Linked DNA regions of Homo sapiens: all the other regions are linked to region 1. The links are contacts of gene promoters, found by promoter capture Hi-C in blood cells and fetal thymus (Javierre and others, 2016). All regions are on one chromosome and are shown on one strand. The core of a region is centred on a gene start or on the middle of the fragment in contact, and the rest is flanking DNA. Distances in the headings are between cores, read along the strand shown.

Evidence for each region. The method cuts DNA at HindIII sites, captures the fragments that hold promoters and counts their contacts. A CHiCAGO score of 5 or more calls a contact.
Region 2: a fragment that was not itself captured here is called in contact with the fragment with the promoter of RPS25 in region 1 in 2 of 17 cell types (fetal thymus and naive CD4 T cells); the score reaches 5.8 in fetal thymus.
Region 3: a fragment that was not itself captured here is called in contact with the fragment with the promoter of RPS25 in region 1 in 3 of 17 cell types (naive CD8 T cells, total CD4 T cells and non-activated CD4 T cells); the score reaches 7.4 in naive CD8 T cells.
Region 4: the fragment with the promoter of TTC36 here is called in contact with the fragment with the promoter of RPS25 in region 1 in 6 of 17 cell types (naive CD4 T cells, naive CD8 T cells, non-activated CD4 T cells and 3 more); the score reaches 9.2 in naive CD4 T cells.
Region 5: a contact is called between the fragment with the promoter of RNF26 here and the fragment with the promoter of RPS25 in region 1, in 2 of 17 cell types (fetal thymus and neutrophils). The highest score is 7.8, in fetal thymus.
Region 6: a contact is called between a fragment that was not itself captured here and the fragment with the promoter of RPS25 in region 1, in 7 of 17 cell types (M1 macrophages, non-activated CD4 T cells, naive B cells and 4 more). The highest score is 7.5, in M1 macrophages.
Region 7: a fragment that was not itself captured here is called in contact with the fragment with the promoter of RPS25 in region 1 in 6 of 17 cell types (non-activated CD4 T cells, total CD8 T cells, total CD4 T cells and 3 more); the score reaches 7.9 in non-activated CD4 T cells.

What each region holds. Positions count from the first base shown.
Region 1 is chr11:119,016,916-119,019,615 of GRCh38, forward strand. RPS25 (ribosomal protein S25) reads right to left here and starts at 1,428. Exons shown (of 5, transcript NM_001028.3): 1 at 1,367-1,428; 2 at 1,043-1,138; 3 at 447-630. The coding sequence starts at 1,369. TRAPPC4 (trafficking protein particle complex subunit 4) reads left to right here and starts at 1,851. Exons shown (of 5, transcript NM_016146.6): 1 at 1,851-2,055; 2 at 2,228-2,402. The coding sequence starts at 1,881. RefSeq lists enhancers at 1,150-1,219, 1,240-1,469, 1,724-2,422 and a silencer at 1,710-1,829. The HindIII fragment of the contact is 1,015 bases long and covers 1,360-2,374 here.
Region 2 is chr11:119,310,080-119,312,779 of GRCh38, forward strand. It overlaps MCAM (melanoma cell adhesion molecule), which reads right to left. Exons shown (of 16, transcript NM_006500.3): 6 at 2,691-2,700; 7 at 2,448-2,569; 8 at 2,187-2,349; 9 at 1,973-2,091; 10 at 1,729-1,870; 11 at 1,451-1,572; 12 at 1,201-1,342; 13 at 1,011-1,106; 14 at 677-824; 15 at 270-387. Among named protein-coding and RNA genes, the nearest start is that of MIR6756, 1.6 kb to the right of the region's middle. The HindIII fragment of the contact is 5,572 bases long and covers 1-2,700 here.
Region 3 is chr11:118,598,765-118,601,528 of GRCh38, forward strand. It overlaps ARCN1 (archain 1 coat protein complex I subunit delta), which reads left to right. Exons shown (of 10, transcript NM_001655.5): 10 at 1,861-2,764. The coding sequence ends at 1,950. Among named protein-coding and RNA genes, the nearest start is that of PHLDB1, 7.5 kb to the right of the region's middle. The HindIII fragment of the contact is 9,298 bases long and covers 1-2,764 here.
Region 4 is chr11:118,525,912-118,528,723 of GRCh38, forward strand. TTC36 (tetratricopeptide repeat domain 36) reads left to right here and starts at 1,563. Exons shown (of 3, transcript NM_001080441.4): 1 at 1,563-1,701; 2 at 2,692-2,812. The coding sequence starts at 1,584. KMT2A (lysine methyltransferase 2A) reads left to right here. Exons shown (of 36, transcript NM_001197104.2): 36 at 1-921. All of the region lies in intron 1 of TTC36-AS1 (TTC36 and KMT2A antisense RNA 1), which reads right to left. The HindIII fragment of the contact is 1,033 bases long and covers 930-1,962 here.
Region 5 is chr11:119,333,170-119,335,869 of GRCh38, forward strand. It overlaps RNF26 (ring finger protein 26), which reads left to right and starts at 1,358. Exons shown (of 1, transcript NM_032015.5): 1 at 1,358-2,700. The coding sequence starts at 1,954. RefSeq lists an enhancer at 1,000-1,891. The HindIII fragment of the contact is 9,565 bases long and covers 1-2,700 here.
Region 6 is chr11:118,701,949-118,704,704 of GRCh38, forward strand. It overlaps LOC105369519 (a long non-coding RNA gene), which reads left to right. Exons shown (of 4, transcript XR_007062909.1): 3 at 2,660-2,756. It also overlaps the pseudogene RNU6-376P. Among named protein-coding and RNA genes, the nearest start is that of TREH, 24 kb to the left of the region's middle. The HindIII fragment of the contact is 1,242 bases long and covers 630-1,871 here.
Region 7 is chr11:118,575,326-118,578,208 of GRCh38, forward strand. The region is part of intron 1 of ARCN1 (archain 1 coat protein complex I subunit delta); the gene reads left to right. It also overlaps a transcript of IFT46 not described here. Among named protein-coding and RNA genes, the nearest start is that of ARCN1, 4.4 kb to the left of the region's middle. The HindIII fragment of the contact is 2,250 bases long and covers 127-2,376 here.

The sequences.
Region 1 (2,700 bases), core at 178-2,677:
GTTAGCTGAGCCTTATTATTGTGGAATTATGGTAATCAGACCATACTACTGAGTAGACCGTACTAAATTTCTGGTTTTAAAATTTAATACATCAACAAAATATTTACCATAAAGGTTTTAAACATTTTCAAAGTTGTTTCAAAATAGTAATCTAATTATTTCAAAAACGGTTGTCCCTGTAATTCTATGCATCCATTTACTCGAAACATAAAAGATCCTTGGGCTTCACTAAACTGCCACAGGGTCCACGGCACAAAAGTGGCTAAGAACCCTGAGAATTCATCTCAGGATCAGGAGTAAGACGTCAGAATTACATTACTAACAGCCAATGGTCAAGCCACGCTTTTTTTTTTTAATTCTGCTTTTCCAGCAAAACCACTGAAGATGCTTAACATGGTCAAGACAATTTAACCTACAAAAACACACATGTAGGATACACCCCTCACCTTTACTAAGGAGCTCCTGAAGGGCTGCCCTGGCCAGGGAGCCTCGAATCTTCAGTCTCTCAGAGACCACAGCTGGGGTTATAAGTTTATAGTTGGGAACTTCCTTACAGAGTTTATCATAGGTAGCTTTGTCAAACAAGACTAAGTTATTGAGCTTGTCCCGAACTTTGCCTTTGGACCACTTCTGCTCACCAAAACAAAACAGAAACAAGTTAGTATTTCTGGCAGAAGCACCCTTTCCCTCTCGAGTAATCTGCGTCAGAGAAATCTGTTCCACCGTTATCAAGGATAAATTACACATTACTAAAACAAAAACAAAAAAAAAACACCGACACGTTTTTGGCCTTCAAACAGGGGCCGAGCCCCACTAGATCAGTTAAAAATAACACAGCAGGCACAGCGGCAGACACTTCGCACAACAGACCCATTTTCATGATCCTAATGGGAAAAAGAACGAGTGGTGACGGGAAGATAAACTCTCACATTTTGACTCTAGAAATCTACACCTGAAAAACCACTTACTATACAAGTTACCTATTACTAGAGGATTACGAGAGAGTTACCCCTAGTCTCTTTCAGAGAGGTCTTATTTCTACCTTCTTTTTGGCCTTGCCCCCGGATTTGTTCACTGGGTCTTTGTCTTTCTTGGCCGACTTTCCAGCGTCCTTCTTCTTCTTGTCGTCCTTAGGCGGCTGTAGGAGGGCAGCGGGAATGCAACCAGGTCCTCAAATAGCGCCAAAGTCCCCTAATACTGCGCCCTCAGCCCCCGCAAACTCCACCACCAGAGCACATGGGCCAAGCAATAACCGCGCCCGCCCTGCAACCGAGGCCGGCAGGCCAAGGAGCGCTCCCGCCGAAGGCTCTCCCCACTGAGTCCTCAAACCCAAGAACGCCGGCGACTTCACACCCCTGAAGCTTACCATTGCGAAGCTCGGAGAATAGCAGCAGACACCGCAGCCTCGTCAAGATGTCGGACAAAAAGGAAGCGCTGCTCAGAAACGGGCCCAAAAACCACCGTCCGCTGTGAGTACTTCCGGGGCAAAAGGCGGAGCCAGGCAGAAGAAGTCCCACGGCGAAGCGCTCGCCCTCTAGCCTGAGGCGGAAGACAGGAAGTGGATTCTAGTTCCCAAGCCGCACCGCCTAAATACTGCCGGAGTCTGCGCTAGTTGTGACGCATACTATAGCGCTGTTTTCCTGCACTGATAAACGAAAAGCAATCCACCAGGTCTCGGCAGCTAACTTTCCGGCACTACTTATGCCCGAGCGTGTCGCTCCCAGTGCGCAAGTGCAGCAGGTGGCTGCACGGGGGGCGCGGGAGGAGGAGGAGGAGGAGGAGGAGGCTGGGGTGGGGCCGGCGGCAAGTGCTGTGATGCGGTTCCGGGGAGGGGCCGTCGGGTAGAGGCTGAATACCAGTTTCCGAGCGGCAAGGCAGCGATGGCGATTTTTAGTGTGTATGTGGTGAACAAAGCTGGCGGCTTGATTTACCAGTTGGACAGCTACGCGCCACGGGCTGAGGCTGAGAAAACTTTCAGTTATCCGCTGGATCTGCTGCTCAAGCTACACGATGAGCGTGTGTTGGTTGCTTTCGGCCAGCGGGACGGCATCCGAGGTGGGCTAGGCTCGGGCCCGTGGCGGGTGCGGGGGTGGGAGGGCCCCAGTGCTGTAGAAGTGGGCTGGTTGTAGGTGCGGGGTTGGGGGAAAAGGGGTTGTGTCGGGTCCCTTGTCCCCTCGGCGGAATCCCCGGGCTGCACCTTCGCTGACCGTTAGCTTCACCTCTGCAGTGGGTCATGCAGTGCTGGCCATCAATGGCATGGACGTGAATGGCAGGTACACGGCCGACGGGAAAGAGGTGCTGGAGTATCTGGGTAACCCTGCTAATTACCCGGTGTCCATTCGATTTGGCCGGCCCCGCCTCACTTCTAATGAGAAGCTTATGCTGGCCTCCATGTTCCACTCGTAAGTCCCCCGTCTCCTGAACGGCAGCGCTTGTAATTTGTCTACCTTTTCTTAAATCGTCGTTCTGGTGTTATGAAAAACGCAACCGATCCAGATCTAGATTTTAGGTAATAACGGCAGTGGTGTCATCTTTTTTTGCTGGGTGGGGAGGGGCCGCGGAGTTACCCAGGCTGGAGCGCAGTGGCGGGATCTCGGCTCACTGCAGCCTCTGCCTCCCAGGTTCAAGCGATTCTCCTGCCTCAGCCTCCCGAGTAGCTGGGATTACAGGCGCGTGCCACCACGACCAGCTAATTTTTGT
Region 2 (2,700 bases), core at 1-2,500, 290 kb after region 1:
CCGTCTGACTGCACTGGTGAAATGGCCACACCCAGAGCCACGGGCATTGGTCAGGAAAAGGTGATGGGACAGGGTCTTTCTCAGTCTTCCTCCAAGCTCCCTCAGCCACTTGCTTGGCCCTGCCATCTGTGAGTAGTGTTAAGAAGGCAAGATGGGGCCTGCTCCCTATCTCTGACAAAGAGGGATGAAGGATAGAGAGAACCGTTAGTCCCTACTGCCCCCGGTCCCTGAGGATGTGGCAGGCTCTGGCCACAGGAACCGCCTCCTACCTGGTCTCCCGGAGCCCTCTTGTCACCGCTGCTGCCCTGCAGGAGGCCCATCTCTTCTGGGAGCTTATCTGACTTAACTTCAACTACAAGTTCGCTCTTACGAGACGGGGGTAGCGTGCTGGGAGGAGGGAGGGAGGTGAGAGGTTGGTATCTCAGGGCCACAGGAAGAGAAGGGCCCGCTGTGAAGGATGTGGAATGGATGAGGGCTCCTTGCTCCAGGGCCAGCCCAGGGCAGGGAAGCAGGTCATGAGACCATGTGGCTGATGGAAGCTGGGCAGTGGGTAGTGGAGCAGGCAGCACCCTGACCCAGGGCCCCACTCCTGCTGTCAAGGGGCAGGCGGGCGCTGGGCAGGCAGCAGGCTGGGTGGCAAAACGGGCGGGGGCGGAGGGGCCGGTGTTGGGCTTACATCTCCTGCTTCCCTGAGCGCCTGCACGGCAGCTTGCCCTTCTTATAGAGGAAATAGAGGACAGCGCCCAGCACCGCCAGGACCAGGATGCACACAATCACAGCCACGATGACCACGCCCCGGCTCTCCGGCTCCGGCAGCTTTCTCTCTGCGCCACAAAGACACTCCTCGTCACTCCCTGCCCCAGGCCACTTCGTCACCATCGTTGGCCCAGCCAGTCCAGGGCCGACAAGATGGGGCTGCTACTCACCTTTCTGGACAGGGCTCTCTGGGGAGGGACAGGGCAGAAAGGATGCCCTGGCACAGCCCTGTTCTCTTGCCAGGCCTGGCTTACCTGTGGAGGTGCTGTTGGCTCTGGTATGAGGACTGGCAGTGGAAGTGCTGAGGCCAGTGGTTGTGTTGGAGTCTGGTGTGAGGGTGGTTAAATTGACTAGGAGGCAGAGGGAGGGGTGTTAGGAGAAGCGCAAGTTACTGCCCGTGCCTGGGCCTGCCCCTGCCATCCCCTGCAGGGATGCAGCCCTCACCCAGCTCCAGGAAGAGGATGCTGGTGTTTTTGCCCAGGTCGTTGGAGGCCGTGCATTCAACACCTGTCTCCAACAGCTCCGGGGTCACGAGGACATTCAGGGTGCTCAGGACTCGCTGTGGATCTTGGTCTTGTTCACTTGCCTGCGAGGAAAGGAAGGAGGCAGCTCAGGGGATGGGGAGGATCTCTGGTCCTGGCCACAAAGCGCAGGCAGGGATTAGGAGAGTGTGGCAGATGAGACACCCGCTCACCGTGCCGTTGACGTTCCAGGAGATGGTGGGCCGGGGGTGCCCTGACGCTTCACAAGACAGATTCAACACCATATTCTCTTTCACCCACACCTTCCTCTCCTTGAATGCCATCCAAGGGGGGCCTTGGGGAGGTAGGGAGAGGTGAGGTGGCAAGCCCAGCTAGCCTGCCTCCCCCTCCGCACCAGAGCTCCCCAGGGCAGCAGGTGGCTTTTTGTCAAAGAGCTTAAAAACCACCCCACTTGGGGTGACCTGGTCTCTACCCAGAGGGAGGGCCTCACCAAAAATGGCCACGTTGACCAGCTGTGTGCGGTTCAGGCCGGGTATGCTGGGCACAGACGCCACGCAGCGATAGCCGCCTCCTGCCTCCCGTTTCAGGTCATGCAACTGAAGCACAGGCCCCCTTTCCAGCACCTGGCCTGTCTGGGATGAGAGATGGGTCAGAGGGTCTGGGAAAGAGCACATTCTTGTCACCGCCAGCCCCACCCACCCCATCAGCCCCTTGCCCCAGACCCGCCTGGGTACCTCTTCTCTCAGCCACTGGAACTCGAGGTCCTGGCTACTCTCTGCCTCACAGGTCAGGGTGAGGCTGCTGCCTTCCTGTCTCTCAGGGGCTGCGGGACTCACTCGGACGTCAGACACATCTGGGGGTACAGCAATCATGTCACCCAGGGCAGGGTGGGGCCAGTTCCCTATTGCCCCAGCCTGGTCCCCCTGTCCTGGGTCCCCAGCCCCTCACAGTTCACCAGTAGTTCCTGTGGTTCACTCAGCAGCGATATCATGGTGTCCAAGTCCAGGCCCTGACATTCATAGCGCCCACTGTGTTCCTTCCGGGCAGGCTCCAGCACCAGGACCCCGTTGTCGTTGGTTGTCTCTTCCTCTGCCTCCCTGGTGCTGGGGTTCTAGGGAGGATTGGGGAGGTGAGCAGAGTGCACCTCCCGCCACTCCACCTGGGTCTCTGCTTGCATCCCCACCTGCACCCAGCACAAAGCCCCCACACCTGCTTGCTGATGCTGAAGTGTGGTGGAGGGTTGCCATCAGCCAAACACCTGATTTCCACGCGGTCCCCTTCCTTCAGCATTCCCACGGGCTCCACTTCCAGCCACACTTTTTCTGTCGGGTCTGCATAGGCAAAGGGGGTAGCTCTTGGCCCATGAGTCAACCCTGGGCTGGATAAGGGGGAGCCAGCAGGAGTTTCCAGCAGCCCCAGCCCCAGTAAGCAGAGAGTCAGGTTAGTACTCACAGAAAACAGG
Region 3 (2,764 bases), core at 172-2,671, 420 kb before region 1:
GATTACAAGTGTGAGCCACAGTGCCCAATGGATTTTTTTCCTTTTTTTCTGAGACGGAGTCTTGCTCTGTTGCCCAGGCTGGAGTGCAGTGACATGATCTCGGCCCACTGCAACCTCTGCCTCCCGGGTTCAAGCAATTCTGTCTCAGCCTCCCCAGTAGCTGAGATTACATGCGCCTGCCACCATGCCTGGCTAATTTTTGTATTTTTAGTAGAGACAGGGTTTCACCATATCGGTCAGGCTGGTCTCGAAATCCTGACCTGAGGTGATCCGCCCACCTCAGCCTCCCAAAGTGCTGAGATTACAGGCGTGAACTACCACGCCTGGCGGATTTTTTTTTTTTTTAAGACGGAGTTTCACTCTTGTTGCCCAGGCTGGAGTGCAATGGCGTGATGTTGGTTCACTGCAACCTCTGCCTCCCAGGTTCAAGCGATTCTCCTGCCTCATCCTCCTGAGTAGCTGGGACTACCGGCATGCGCCACCACGCCTGTCTGATTTTTGTATTTTTAGTAAAGACGGTATTTCACCATGTTGGCCAGGCTGGTCTCAAACTCTTGACCTCGTGATCCAGCCACCTCGGCCTCCCAAAGTGCTAGGATTACAGGCGCGAGTCACCGCGCTCGGCCCGGATCATTATTTTTTAACTCATCATTCTTCCAGTTTTTATTGTTGTTGTTGTTTTGAGACGGAGTCTTGCTCTGTCACCAAGGCTGGAGTGCAGTGCGATCTCAGCTCACTGCAGCCTCTGCCTCCCAGGTTCAAGTGATTCTCCTGCCTCAGCCTCCCAAGTAGCTGGGACTACAGGCGTGTACTGCCACACCCAGCTAATTTTTTTTTGTATTTTTAGTAGAGATGGGGTTTCACCATGTTGGCCAGGCTGGTCTCTAACTCCTGACCTCAGATGATCCGCCCACCTCGGCTTCCCAAAGTGCTGGGATTACAGGAGTGAGCTTCCACGTCTGGCTGTTCTTCCAGTTTTTTAATTTGCATTACTAGGACCCAGTTTATATTATTAATATTCCCCTCTTTTTGACTTGCTTGTTGTTCTGGCCCTACCTTAGCTTCCCATATGGTCTCCGTCTCCCCTGTAAATGCTTAGAAAATTGCAGCTTCCTCCCTTGAATGATTCCAAAGAGCAGTTCTCTCTCCCTATCCTGTTAGTGACATAACCCCATCAGTGTTGGAAGCAACTGTATTGAACTCAAGACATTAGATAGAAATGGGTAAATTTTCCTATTGGGGCTATTCAAAGATTAGGACATTATAATTGCTCTCCCAAAACTTCATTAGAAAATACGAATCAGTGGTTCAAGTGTTGTATTGGTGCCGTTATAGGTACCATTGTTACATGTAATTAATTAAGCTGGACATTTATTTATTTAAAAAGGAAAAACCTCATTGGACCAGCCATGCCTAAAAAATAAGTATGATAGAGCAGCTTACTGGGACTTTTAACACGAGACTTTGAGAGCAGAGCAAATGAATAATGTGAAGAGCTAGAACGTTGCCTTTTGGGTCAGAATGTTAATATATCATCCTGATAGAATGTCTATGAATTTCATAGGTTATACAGGGCAGGGCTGGGCTGTGGCCACTCATTTTGGAGCTTTTACTTAATACTACGGAACATCTCGTCCCAACAGTTGTCTTTTCTCCATCTAGAAGAAAAGCAGCTTAATCATTTTGGTGGGGAAGAGTGATGCTGTGACTTTCAGTTGTGAATTGAACATTTTTCTAGTATTTTACAGTTACTTTTAATACCGCTTTTAGGGAAATTGATATGTTCTGTAATGAGAATGTAGTCAACATGATGGAGACTCAAACCTCCTGCTTTACCTTACTCTTTGTTTATTTTCCTAGGTTACCAAAGTGACCCAGGTAGATGGAAACAGCCCCGTCAGGTTTTCCACAGAGACCACTTTCCTAGTGGATAAGTATGAAATTCTGTAATACCAAGAAGAGGGAGCTGAAAAGGAAAATTTTCAGATTAATAAAGAAGACGCCAATGATGGCTGAAGAGTTTTTCCCAGATTTACAAGCCACTGGAGACCCCTTTTTTCTGATACAATGCACGATTCTCTGCGCGCAAGGACCCTCGACTCACCCCCATGTTTCAGTGTCACAGAGACATTCTTTGATAAGGAAATGGCACAAACATAAAGGGAAAGGCTGCTAATTTTCTTTGGCAGATTGTATTGGCCAGCAGGAAAGCAAGCTCTCCAGAGAATGCCCCCAGTTAAATACCTCCTCTACCTTTACCTAAGTTGCTCCTTTATTTTTATTTTATTATTATTATTATTATTATTATTATTTTTTGAGATGGAGTCTCACTTTGTAACCCAGGCTGGAATGCAATGGCATGATCTCAGCTCACTGCAACCTCCGCCTCCTGGGTTCAAGCAAGTCTCCTGCCTCAGCCTCCGAGTAGCTGGGACTACAGGTGCACGCCACCACGCCTGGCTAATTTTTTGTATTTTAGTAGAGACGGGGTTTCACCGTGTTGCCCAGGCTGGTCGCGAACTCCTGAGCTCAGGCAATCCGCCCACCTCAGCCTCCCAAAGTGTTGGGATTACAGGCATGAGCCACCATGCCCAGCTGCTCCTTTATTTTAATCCCTAAATATAATCCCTAAATATAGTTATATTTCATACTTAGTTTGTTTTTAAAAAGTTTTCTCTGTAGAAAATTTTAATCATTCATACCCTTTACCTTTAGGTTTTTCTTTCTATACATTCAGTCAGGCACTGGGATCATCTGTTTACAG
Region 4 (2,812 bases), core at 313-2,812, 490 kb before region 1:
AATACTAGTCAAGTCACACACTCTGGAAACTTGCAACTTTTTGTTTGTTTTGGTTTTCAAATAAATATAAATATGATATATATAGGAACTAATATAGTAATGCACCATGTAACAAAGCCTAGTTCAGTCCATGGCTTTTAATTCTCTTAACACTATAGATAAGGATTGTGTTACAGTTGCTAGTAGCGGCAGGAAGATGTCAGGCTCACTTTCCTCTGATTCCCGAAATGGGGGGAACCTCTAACCATAAAGGAATGGTAGAACAGTCCATTCCTCGGATCAGAGAAAAATGCAGACATGGTGTCACCTGGATTTTTTTCTGCCCATGAATGTTGCCAGTCAGTACCTGTCCTCCTTGTTTCTCTATTTTTGGTTATGAATGTTGGGGTTACCACCTGCATTTAGGGGAAAATTGTGTTCTGTGCTTTCCTGGTATCTTGTTCCGAGGTACTCTAGTTCTGTCTTTCAACCAAGAAAATAGAATTGTGGTGTTTCTTTTATTGAACTTTTAACAGTCTCTTTAGTAAATACAGGTAGTTGAATAATTGTTTCAAGAGCTCAACAGATGACAAGCTTCTTTTCTAGAAATAAGACATTTTTTGACAACTTTATCATGTATAACAGATCTGTTTTTTTTCCTTGTGTTCTTCCAAGCTTCTGGTTAGAGAAAAAGAGAAAAAAAAAAAAGGAAAATGTGTCTAAAGTCCATCAGTGTTAACTCCCTGTGACAGGGATGAAGGAAAATACTTTAATAGTTCAAAAAATAATAATGCTGAAAGCTCTCTACGAAAGACTGAATGTAAAAGTAAAAAGTGTACATAGTTGTAAAAAAAAGGAGTTTTTAAACATGTTTATTTTCTATGCACTTTTTTTTATTTAAGTGATAGTTTAATTAATAAACATGTCAAGTTTATTGCTGCACATGGTTAAGCTTCCTTTTGGCTTTGGTTGGAGAGGGTGGAGAAAAGCGGGAGGGGCATGGCCTGTGACCTGGTCACAAAGTACCTTCCACAGTCCTTTACTTTAAGGTGGCATCACTAAATTATTCCCTGTAGCCCACCTTCAGGTCCACTCCACACTGGCTCTCTTGACTATTTTCTTCCTTTATTCATCAGTGATGTATGTTCAGGACCTAATTAATTGTGGATATGAGGCAGGGTCAAGAGGACAAAGGAACAGGGCCTTTACCTTCTACATAGCTCCCCTGTTTCATCCAAGGAGGTTAAGTATTGATTTTTATCGGTTTTCTCAACTGTGAATATAATAAACTGAAAGCATTTCAGGGAGAAGCTGGAGAACACCTTCTCTAGCTGCACTCCACCTTAAGGCTGAAGCTGGATTTGTTTACTGTTTCTCCTGGGGGCAGGGGCAGTTGAGAAATAACCAAGTAGTCTGCCAAGCCAGGGTCAACCCTCCAGGCCACAGGTTGAGCAAATGCTACAGCCATGGACAGGGAGACACTCCTCACGAAGGGGTGGTCCTCATCCTTTCAGATCAACTTCCTGCTGGAGGCTCCACCCTCACCACGTCCCTCCCTCTTCTCTCATCTGGAGTCACCTTTTGGGATTTTGGAGTTGAGCACCATGGGGACTCCAAATGATCAGGCAGTGCTGCAGGCCATCTTCAACCCTGACACCCCATTTGGAGACATTGTTGGATTGGACCTCGGAGAGGAAGCAGAAAAGGAAGAACGAGAAGAAGGTGGGCATTTGATCTGGAGTGTAGCTCTGCACATAGGCTGGCCTGCTGGCCTCCCGAGGTAGCAGAGAGGGAGGTGGTTTTATAAGGCCCCTTGTTCCATGATTATGATTGAGATTGGAATCAGAGAGGTTGGCTGCTCCTTAGCGCACTGATGGGGGTTTGGTAAGAGATGTCCTGCCAAGAGGAGTAAGCTGGGGTTTGTCTCTCGATCCATCAGCTCTCATGCCTCTGAACTTACCACTTAATTGACTGTATGATCCAAGCTTAACTGCCAGGTGATGTTAAACTCTCACATTTTTGTCATAACAGAGAATACCACCACCAGAACAGAAGACTGAAATAAGGCAGGGCATGGTTGCTCAGTTGAGTGGTTCCAATATAGCAAGCACAACCAGTAACCGTTAAACACTGTCACAAGCCAAGCTCCAAACTAACTCTTCCGCAGTGAGTGCGTTCACTGGCTTTTCCATTAATCCCTAATGAAGGAGTTTTTGATCCTTTGTTTCTAGAGGAGTAAAGCCTACACCTTACTAACTCAGGCCGAAACACAGAGGGATACGTCAGAAGTGATGTTCATGATCTGGGAATGTCATGGTGGCCTTTGCATAAGAGGCGGTGTAGTAGAGTAAAATGCAGACAGGAGCCAGAATGACCTGGGTTCAAATCCAAGCTCTGCAACGTATGGCCTGTTGAGGCCATACACAAAGAACTTGAGCAACTTCTTTAACAGATTGAGGAGTCTGGGCTTCATTCTCTTGGCAATGGGGAACCAACCAAGGCCCCTTCCCAGGTCTCTTGGAACTCAGGCAATGCTAGCTCCCAGCCTTAGTGACCTCATCTCCCCCTACCCCAAACACTGCAACTGACCCCTGCTGTGACCCATACCCAGTCAGCTCTGGCTCAGATCTCAGAATTCCAAAGCCTGAGGTGGCTTTTTCTTCTTGCTACCAACTGCACACCTGGCTTCTCCTGGCTCCTTCCCTGGCCCAGATGAAGTTTTCCCTCAAGCACAGCTGGAACAGTCCAAGGCCCTGGAGCTGCAGGGGGTGATGGCAGCAGAGGCTGGGGACCTCAGCACAGCCCTGGAGAGGTTTGGCCAAGCCATCTGCCT
Region 5 (2,700 bases), core at 108-2,607, 320 kb after region 1:
TGCGAGTAGGAAAATAAAAACATCAGCAACACATCACAACACAACAAACCATAACCTGGCCAGGGCCTGAGAGCAGGGAGAGAGAAAGGGTAGGAAGAAGCCAGAGGAGTTTCAGCGACTGCAGTCCTTCCTCTGCACTATAGCGTACCCCTACCACGATCCCAAGGCCTCAGTAAAGGTTTGCTGCACACCTCAGCTTCTTATCAGTGATGCTTTGGAGAATGAAGGACTCTGAGGCAGTGTTCAGGGCAGACTGAAGGAGGACGGACACTTTCAGGAGCCCAGGAGTGGAGATGGAGAATTCAACTCAAGTAGGAAATTCAGCAAAGGTGACCAGGGGAAAGATAAGTCCACTAGGAGTCTGCTAAGCATCCTTGGAGTTAGTAGAAAACGCCAGGATTCCCAATATATTTGGGATGGGGTTTCAAATATATTTTGACTATTGTTTGAGTATTAAAGAAAAGGGCAGGGCCGGGCTTGGTGGCTCACGCCTGTAATCTCAGCACTTTGGGAGGCCGAGGCGGGTGGATCACGAGGTTCAGGAGTTCGAGGCCAGCCTGGCCAACATGGTGAAACCTCGTCTCTACTAAAAATACAAAAATTAGCCGGGTGAGGTGGTGGGCACCTGTACTACCCGGGAGGCTGAGGCAGGAGAATCGCTTGAACCCGGGAGGCAGAGGTTGCAGTGAGCCGAGATCGCGCCACTGCACTCTAGGGTAGGAAGGCCCAGGGTAGGAAGCTGAGCGGTTTCTAAATCTGTAGCCCCTTTTTCTCAATGACAATGAAGTAATCTTCCGAGATGTTGAAAAACCTGGTGAGGAAAGTTTGGAATAGCAGTTTGGGAATCCCCTGTAATAATCTGCTTTCCCTTGTGAACAGCAGGCACTGTCTTAAAATTTTTTTGTATCCTCAATGCACTGTAGGAGTTCAATAAATGATAGAATAGATGAATAAATAGAAGAGAATGAGGAGACGGATCTGGGCAGGCTGCGAAGGCGGTGCTATTCCAAAGCCCAGCCCAGAGGCAGTGACCTCCGACCCAAGCCAAAAAAAAAACCTCGCGTTCAGAGGCCGGGAGAAAGAACAGCTCCCAAATTGAGGGGAGTCCAAGACCCTGCTCTTTTAGAGGGTGGGGCTAGGAGAGCGTATTTCGACGCTGCCCGCCAACGAACCAATCCCCGCCTAAAGGGGGAGGGGATTTAATCTGTCGCCTCTCCTTCCCTTTGGAAAGTAAATACGTTCGGGCGCCATTCAAACGGACCAATGAGTGATCGACGTTTTTGTGGTTGGCCTTCACCGATTGGCTGGAGTTTGTCGTCCCTCCCTCCTCGTCACGCCTCTGGCTCCACCCCTTTGCACACAAGATGGCGGCGCCCAGCGGAGTAGGGGCTGCGCTTGGGGTTTGCTGAAGCTGGCTGCCTCTCCCACTCCCCTTTTGGGTGCAAAGCGCCGCTAGCGGGAAGACGGGGGCCGGGCGGGGACAGGGGCACCTGCGTAGCTGGACTGAGAGCCTGCGCCCAGCTTACATCGACCCCACCCGGCCCCGGCCCGACCCGACGCGACCCGATCCGATCCGATCCCATTCCATCCGTTCCTCGTCTCCTCCCGGTCTGACCCGTTGCCCGGCCGTGGTTCGCCACACCAGGCATCCAAAGCTGAGGTCGCTCCTACGGCCTGGGCTCGCCTTCGCTTTAGAGATGTTTGGCCTCTTCCCTCCCAAACAGCCCATCTTCAAAACCTGGACTCTTGGACTGGCACCTGGCCACCTTTCCCTCTACCAAGACTCCACTTCCGTCTTACCCACTTCTTCCTCAGATTCTTGGTACCCCCTGGGTTGGAGACTGCTCATTTTCCTTCCAAATTAATCCCAGACCCCCTAAAATATTGACAACCTTGACAACCCCCCAACCGAGGAGCCAGACTTTGTTTTGGACTAACTTCCATAGCCCTATCATGGAGGCAGTGTACCTGGTAGTGAATGGGTTGGGCCTGGTGCTGGACGTGCTGACCTTGGTGTTGGACCTCAACTTCCTGCTGGTGTCCTCCCTCCTGGCTTCCCTGGCCTGGCTCCTGGCCTTCGTCTACAACCTGCCGCACACGGTACTGACTAGTCTTCTGCACTTGGGCCGCGGAGTCTTGCTTTCATTGCTGGCCTTGATCGAAGCCGTGGTCCGGTTCACATGTGGGGGCTTGCAGGCCTTGTGTACTCTGCTGTATAGCTGCTGCTCTGGCCTAGAGAGCCTAAAGCTCCTGGGGCACCTGGCCTCTCATGGGGCACTGCGGAGCAGGGAGATACTGCACCGGGGCGTCCTCAATGTGGTCTCCAGTGGCCATGCTTTGCTGCGCCAGGCCTGTGACATCTGTGCCATTGCCATGAGCCTGGTGGCTTATGTGATCAACAGCCTGGTCAACATCTGCCTCATCGGCACTCAGAACCTCTTTTCCCTGGTGCTGGCCCTGTGGGATGCAGTGACCGGGCCTCTGTGGAGGATGACGGACGTAGTGGCTGCCTTCCTAGCCCACATTTCCAGCAGTGCTGTGGCCATGGCCATCCTCCTTTGGACACCCTGCCAACTAGCCCTGGAGCTGCTGGCCTCAGCTGCCCGCCTCCTGGCCAGCTTTGTGCTTGTCAATCTCACTGGCTTGGTGTTGCTAGCTTGTGTGCTGGCAGTGACGGTGACTGTGTTGCATCCGGACTTC
Region 6 (2,756 bases), core at 1-2,500, 320 kb before region 1:
TTTGTCTTCAGTGTTATTCGGTTTCTCTAAAATGTATTTAACATAGTCTTATTTATTCTGCTCCAGAATTGTTGTGCTGCTATACCTCCGCCTTCTTTTCCTCTTTTCTTTCTTTTTTAATTTTTATTTTTGTAGAGGCAGTGTCTCACTTTGTTGCCCAGGGCGGTCTTGAACTCCTGGGCTCAAGAGCTCCTCCTGCCCAAAGTGTTGAGATTATAGGGATAAGCCACCACTCCTGGCCCCCTCCTTTTTTTCCTGGAAATTTTTTTGGTGCTTATGATGTGCAGTAATAAAAATACGATTTTAAGTGTTGGGGATTAAATAGTGAACAAAAAAGAGAAAGTCACTATCCTCATGATAGTGATATTTTATTTTATTTTATTTACATTCACAGTGCTTGGTTCACAGCACATATGCTAAAACTGGAACAATACAGAGAAGATTAGCACGGCCCCAGCACAAAGATGATGTGCAAATTCATGAAGTGTTCCATATTAAAAAAATAAAATAAAAATAGCAATACATTTACATTTTATTTTATAGCGACAGGGTCTCACTATGTTTCCCAGGCTGGTTTTGAACTCCTGACTTCAAGCGATCCTCCCGCATGAGCCACCATGCCTGGCCTAAGCTTACATTTTAGTTAGAGAAAGAGCCTGGGAATGAAGCTAGCATGGAGAAGAGCAGAGCTGAGATTTAAAGGGAGCAGATCCTGAAGCCTGGTTGAAAGCTGCATCGTTTCCCACCTGAATTCAACCACATTCATTTTCAGTAACACGAGCAGTAACTGCTTCTTGTTGTTTAAGCCAATTTAAATATATTTCTATGTCAATTACAAATGAAAGGGTATTAACTGTTAGGTGCCCAGCCTCAGCCTAATCTAGATGTTCTTTCTCTGCAACTTTGTATCTTCACTTAATTAGTTTACTTGAAAATTAATTAAATTAGGCCTGGTGCAGTGGCTCATGCTTGTAATCCCAGCACTTTGGGAGGCCGCGGCGGGCGGATCATGAGGTCAGGAGATCCAGACCATCCTGGCTAACATGGTGAAAACACGTCTCTACTAAAAATACAAAAAATTAGCCCGGTGTGGTGGCATGCGCCTGTAGTCCCAGCTACTGGAGAGGCTGAGGCAGGAGAAGCACTTGAGCCCAGGAGGCAGAGGTTGTGGTGAGCCGAGATCTCGCCACTGCACTCCAGCCTGGCGACAGAGCAATACTCCATCTCAAAAAATAAATAAATAAAATAAATAAATAAAAAAAAACACTGACACAGTGGGGATGAAGTTTCAATGTAAATTGCAGAGAGGACAACATTCAAACCATGGTACCTAGTCATAGTATTTTACTCTTTTCTTATGCTTTTAATTCCTGAAGTATCTAGACTTTCTAATCCTATTTTATAATACCTTTGTAGTCCTTATATAACATCTGTGTTTTGGTATTTGTTTCAGGTTTTTTCCTAAGTATGTGTCAAGATCCCATTTTCCAAGTCAAAAATGGGATTTTGCTACACATTATTTCATAACCTGCTCTTTGTTTTTCACATGATAAGGAACTTAAAACAACACACATCTTTTTCTGAGGGCAGAAATTTGGGCCCAGCTCACCTAGGTTCTCCGCTTCAGAGCTTTACCAGGCTGCTGTCCGGGTGCTGGCTGGGGCTATGGTCTCATCTGAGGCTCAGCTGGTCTCATCTAAGGCTTAATATTGGCCCCCAAGCTCCCTCAGACTGTTGGCAGAATTCTTCTCCTTATGGTTGTAAGACTAGAACTGGGGTTCATGTTTTCTTGTTGGCTGTCAGCCAGGGATGGCCCTTAGCAACTAGAGACTACAGTAGTTCCTTGTTGAGTGGCCCTGTCACCACAGAGAAGCTTACTTCTTCAAAGCCAGTAATAGACGGAGAGTCTCTGACCCTCTGAGAGGGCCCAGACACTCTTTCAAAGACTTCCACCTGATTTAGTCAGGCCCACCCATGAAAATGCCCCCTTGACTTCAAAATCAACTGACTTAGGACCCTAATTATGTCTGCAAAACCCCCTCACCTTTTTCACAGTCTATTAGCTGGAAGTAAGTTGCAGGTCCTACCGGCGCTCCAGGGGAGGAGGTTACACAGGGTGTGAACACCAGGGAGTGGGACCACAGGGCCCATCCCTGGGTCTATTCATACCATGTTTACCTTTCCATGTCAGTATCTTTTCTTTTCTTGGTTTTTTTTTTTTTTTTTTTTTTTCAGATGGAGTCTCACTTTGCTGGCCCAGGCTGGAGTGCCGTGGCCCCATCCTGGCTCACTGCAACCTCTGCCTCCCAGGTTCAAGTGATTCTCCTGCCTCAGCCTCCTGAGTAGCTGGGACTACAGGCATGTACCACCACACCTGGCTAATTTTTGTATTTTTAATAGAGATGGGGTTTCGCCACGTTGGCCAGGCTGGTCTTGAACTCCTGACCTGCAGGTGATACTGCCCGCCTAGGCCTCCCAAAGTGCTGGGATTTACAGGCACGAGCCACCGTGCACGGCTGTTATTATGTTTTCTACCACCTTCTAATGTTAATGGCCTCACAGCATTCTACTATGTGGATGTGTCAACATTTATTTAATTATTTATCACTAAGCACTGAATAAACATAAACATTTTAGTTTATTCCTTTTTTTCTTACAGACAGCGCTGGGGAGAATGAACGCCTGAGTACTCATGTCTTTATGCACTGTAGTATTATTTCCTTACAACAGACTCCTGAACCTGGAACGGCAGTGTC
Region 7 (2,883 bases), core at 2-2,501, 440 kb before region 1:
GAAAGAAAATGATTCTCTTGAGTTTCCATTGATTTGCCATCTATTTATGTCTTCATATAGAAGTTCACTGCAGAAACTGATAACGGGTGTGTGTGTGTGTGTGTGTGTGTGTTTTAATTCTCTGCAAGCTTTTGTTTTAGAATAGAAATGTGATGGACTTAAAACCCTCACTGAGTAAATTACTTTTCAAGTTTTAGGTTTCGTATGTGGTCTACATTTTATTGTAATCTTCTCTCTGATTTTATCTATAATAGCTTCATATAAATAGAAAAGACAGAACAGTCCTCCCTGACAATTATAGAAACTAGCCTTAATATGACCATGAATTGTGTGTGCATGTATATGTGTATAAAATATTGCGGTGAATTACAAAGGAGAAGGTGACTATAATTCTGGAAGTAAGGGATCCTGAAGCATTTAGAGATTCAAGAAAGAACTTGACTTTTTTTGAGAGAGAGTTGTGCATATTTATCCTGAATTATTATACCACCTGTTATTCTTGTATCTCTCTTGCACACACAATTTGTTATGGTTAGACAATTTGCCTTCTGGCAGCCTAATGTTACTATAAAATATTGTTCCAAAGTGGTTAGAACTGGAGCAGTGGGTATAAAATGGAAGTATTGTACATTTTCTGTCACTGTAGTTGTTTTTTTTTTTTTCTGTTACTGTAGTTTTCAAATGCTTAGACTTACAGAACTTTAAAGACACAGAGCACTTTGGATTTCATGTAAACTAACCTCCTATGTTAGGGATATTTCAATAATCAATTAAGTGACTTATCCAAGGTCACATAATTAGTGGCAAAGGCAGAACAGAAACCTAATTCTCCAGGTTTTTTTACTTGAGGCACTTAACAATTCATGTAGTTAAGTCTGTGTAGGAGAGAGTTGTTATTTAGTCCAAAGATAGTGTACTCAAACCATGTAAGAATTATTAAAAGTTGTTTGGCAAAGCTCAACTTTATGAGGGAATTTTTTTTTTTTTTAACCGTCCTGGAGAGATCATCTAACTTATGGGCCCTCAGTTTTCACATCTGTAAGACAATCAAGGGCTCTTGCAAGTTCCTTTTAGATCTGGAATGTTTTTTCCAAAAATGTTAAAAAAAAAAAAAAAAAAAAAAACCAAAAACTTTGTAATCATATTTATTAATTCTTCCTCAGAGAAAATCAGATCAAATTTCAATAGGGAAAATTGTTAACTTACCTTTTAGTATATGCTATATTTTAATAATTGTTAAACCAGTAAACATTAATGTAAAGAGGTTTATTATTTCAAGAACTTTAAGAAGACAAATGTTAATTTAGGATAGGATAAATTTATCATGTTTAGAGGTGACCATACCTTCTAGCCATATTAGTAGCTGTAACAGAGAGACCTGTGTCAACTGCCTGGAACCTGTAATTTGTGGTGTCCTGGGTGTTCGGAGATTTATGCTATACTTAGTATGGGGAACTATGGTCCTATTTTGGAAGCCTTGTTTTGCTTGTATCTGGATAATGGAATGACTCAAAGAGAGACATATGATTTTACCCTACTTCTTTCTTCATCTTGACGTACTGAAAGCCTGGAATTCTGGCCAGGTGTGGCGGCTCATGCCTGTAATCCCAGCACTTTGGGAGGCTCAGGCGGGCAGATCACTTGAGGTTGGGAGTTTGAGACCAGCCTGGGCAACATGGCAAAACCCTGTCTCTACAGAAAAATACAAAAAATTAGCCAGGTGTGGTGGCCTGTGCCTGTAGTCCCAGATACTTGGGAGGCTGAGGTGGGAGAATCACCTGAGCCCAGAAGGTTGAGGCTGCACTGAGCCAAGATCACGCCACTGCACTACAGCTTGGGCAATAGAGCAAGACTCTGTTTCAAAACAAACAAATCCTGGAATTCATCAAAGCATGATCTAAATTCTGTTTCTTTCTTTCTTTCTTTCTTTTTTTTTTTTGAGGCAGAGTCTCACTTTGTAGCCCAGGCTGGAGTGAAGTGGTATGATCTTGGCTTACTGCAACTTCCGCCTCCCAGGTTCAAGCAATCCTCCCACCTCACTCTCCCCGTAGCTGGGACTACAGACGTGCACCACCAGACTTGGCTAATTTTTTGTATTTTTTGGTAGAGACAGGGTTTTCCCATGTTGACCAGGCTGGTCTCGAACTCCTGACCTCAGGTGATCTGCCTGCCCTGGCTCCCAAAGTGCTGGATTAAGGCATGAGCCACCGCTCCCGGCCTAAATGCTGTTTCTTCTATCAAGTCATCCCTGACTGTACCAGCTGGAAGTAATCTCTTCCTCTGAATTTCCACGCACTTTATCGGTTACTCTCTCATGTTACTTAACACATTCTGCCTCATATTACAGTTATTTGTGTTTGTGTCTTATCCCTATTAAGCTTCTTGTAGGCAGAATGCTAGCCTGTGTCATCTTAATTCTCAGAAAGCATGTTGTATGTATAGTAGATGTTCGATAAATAATTACTCAGTTAATTCTTATAATATCGCAAAAATGGAGATTACCAGTACCTATAATTAGTTTTTGAACATGCTCATCAGTAAAGTGGATGGGCCAGGTGCAGTGGCTCACTCCTGTAATCCCAACACTTTGGAGGCCAAGGCGCGCAGATGACTTGAGGCCAGGAGTTGGAGACCAGCCTGCCCAACATGGCAAAACCCTGTCTCTATTAAAAATAGAAAAATTAGCCAGGCTTGGTGGTGCTGGCCTGTGCCTGTAGTCCCAGTTACTCAGGAGGCTGAGGCATGAGAATTGCTTGAACTCAGGAGGCAGAGCTTGCAGTGAGCCAAGATGGCACCACTGCACTCCAGCCTGGACTACAGAGTGAGACACTCTCTCAAAAAATAAATAAATAAATAAATAAATAAATAAATAAATAAATAAAT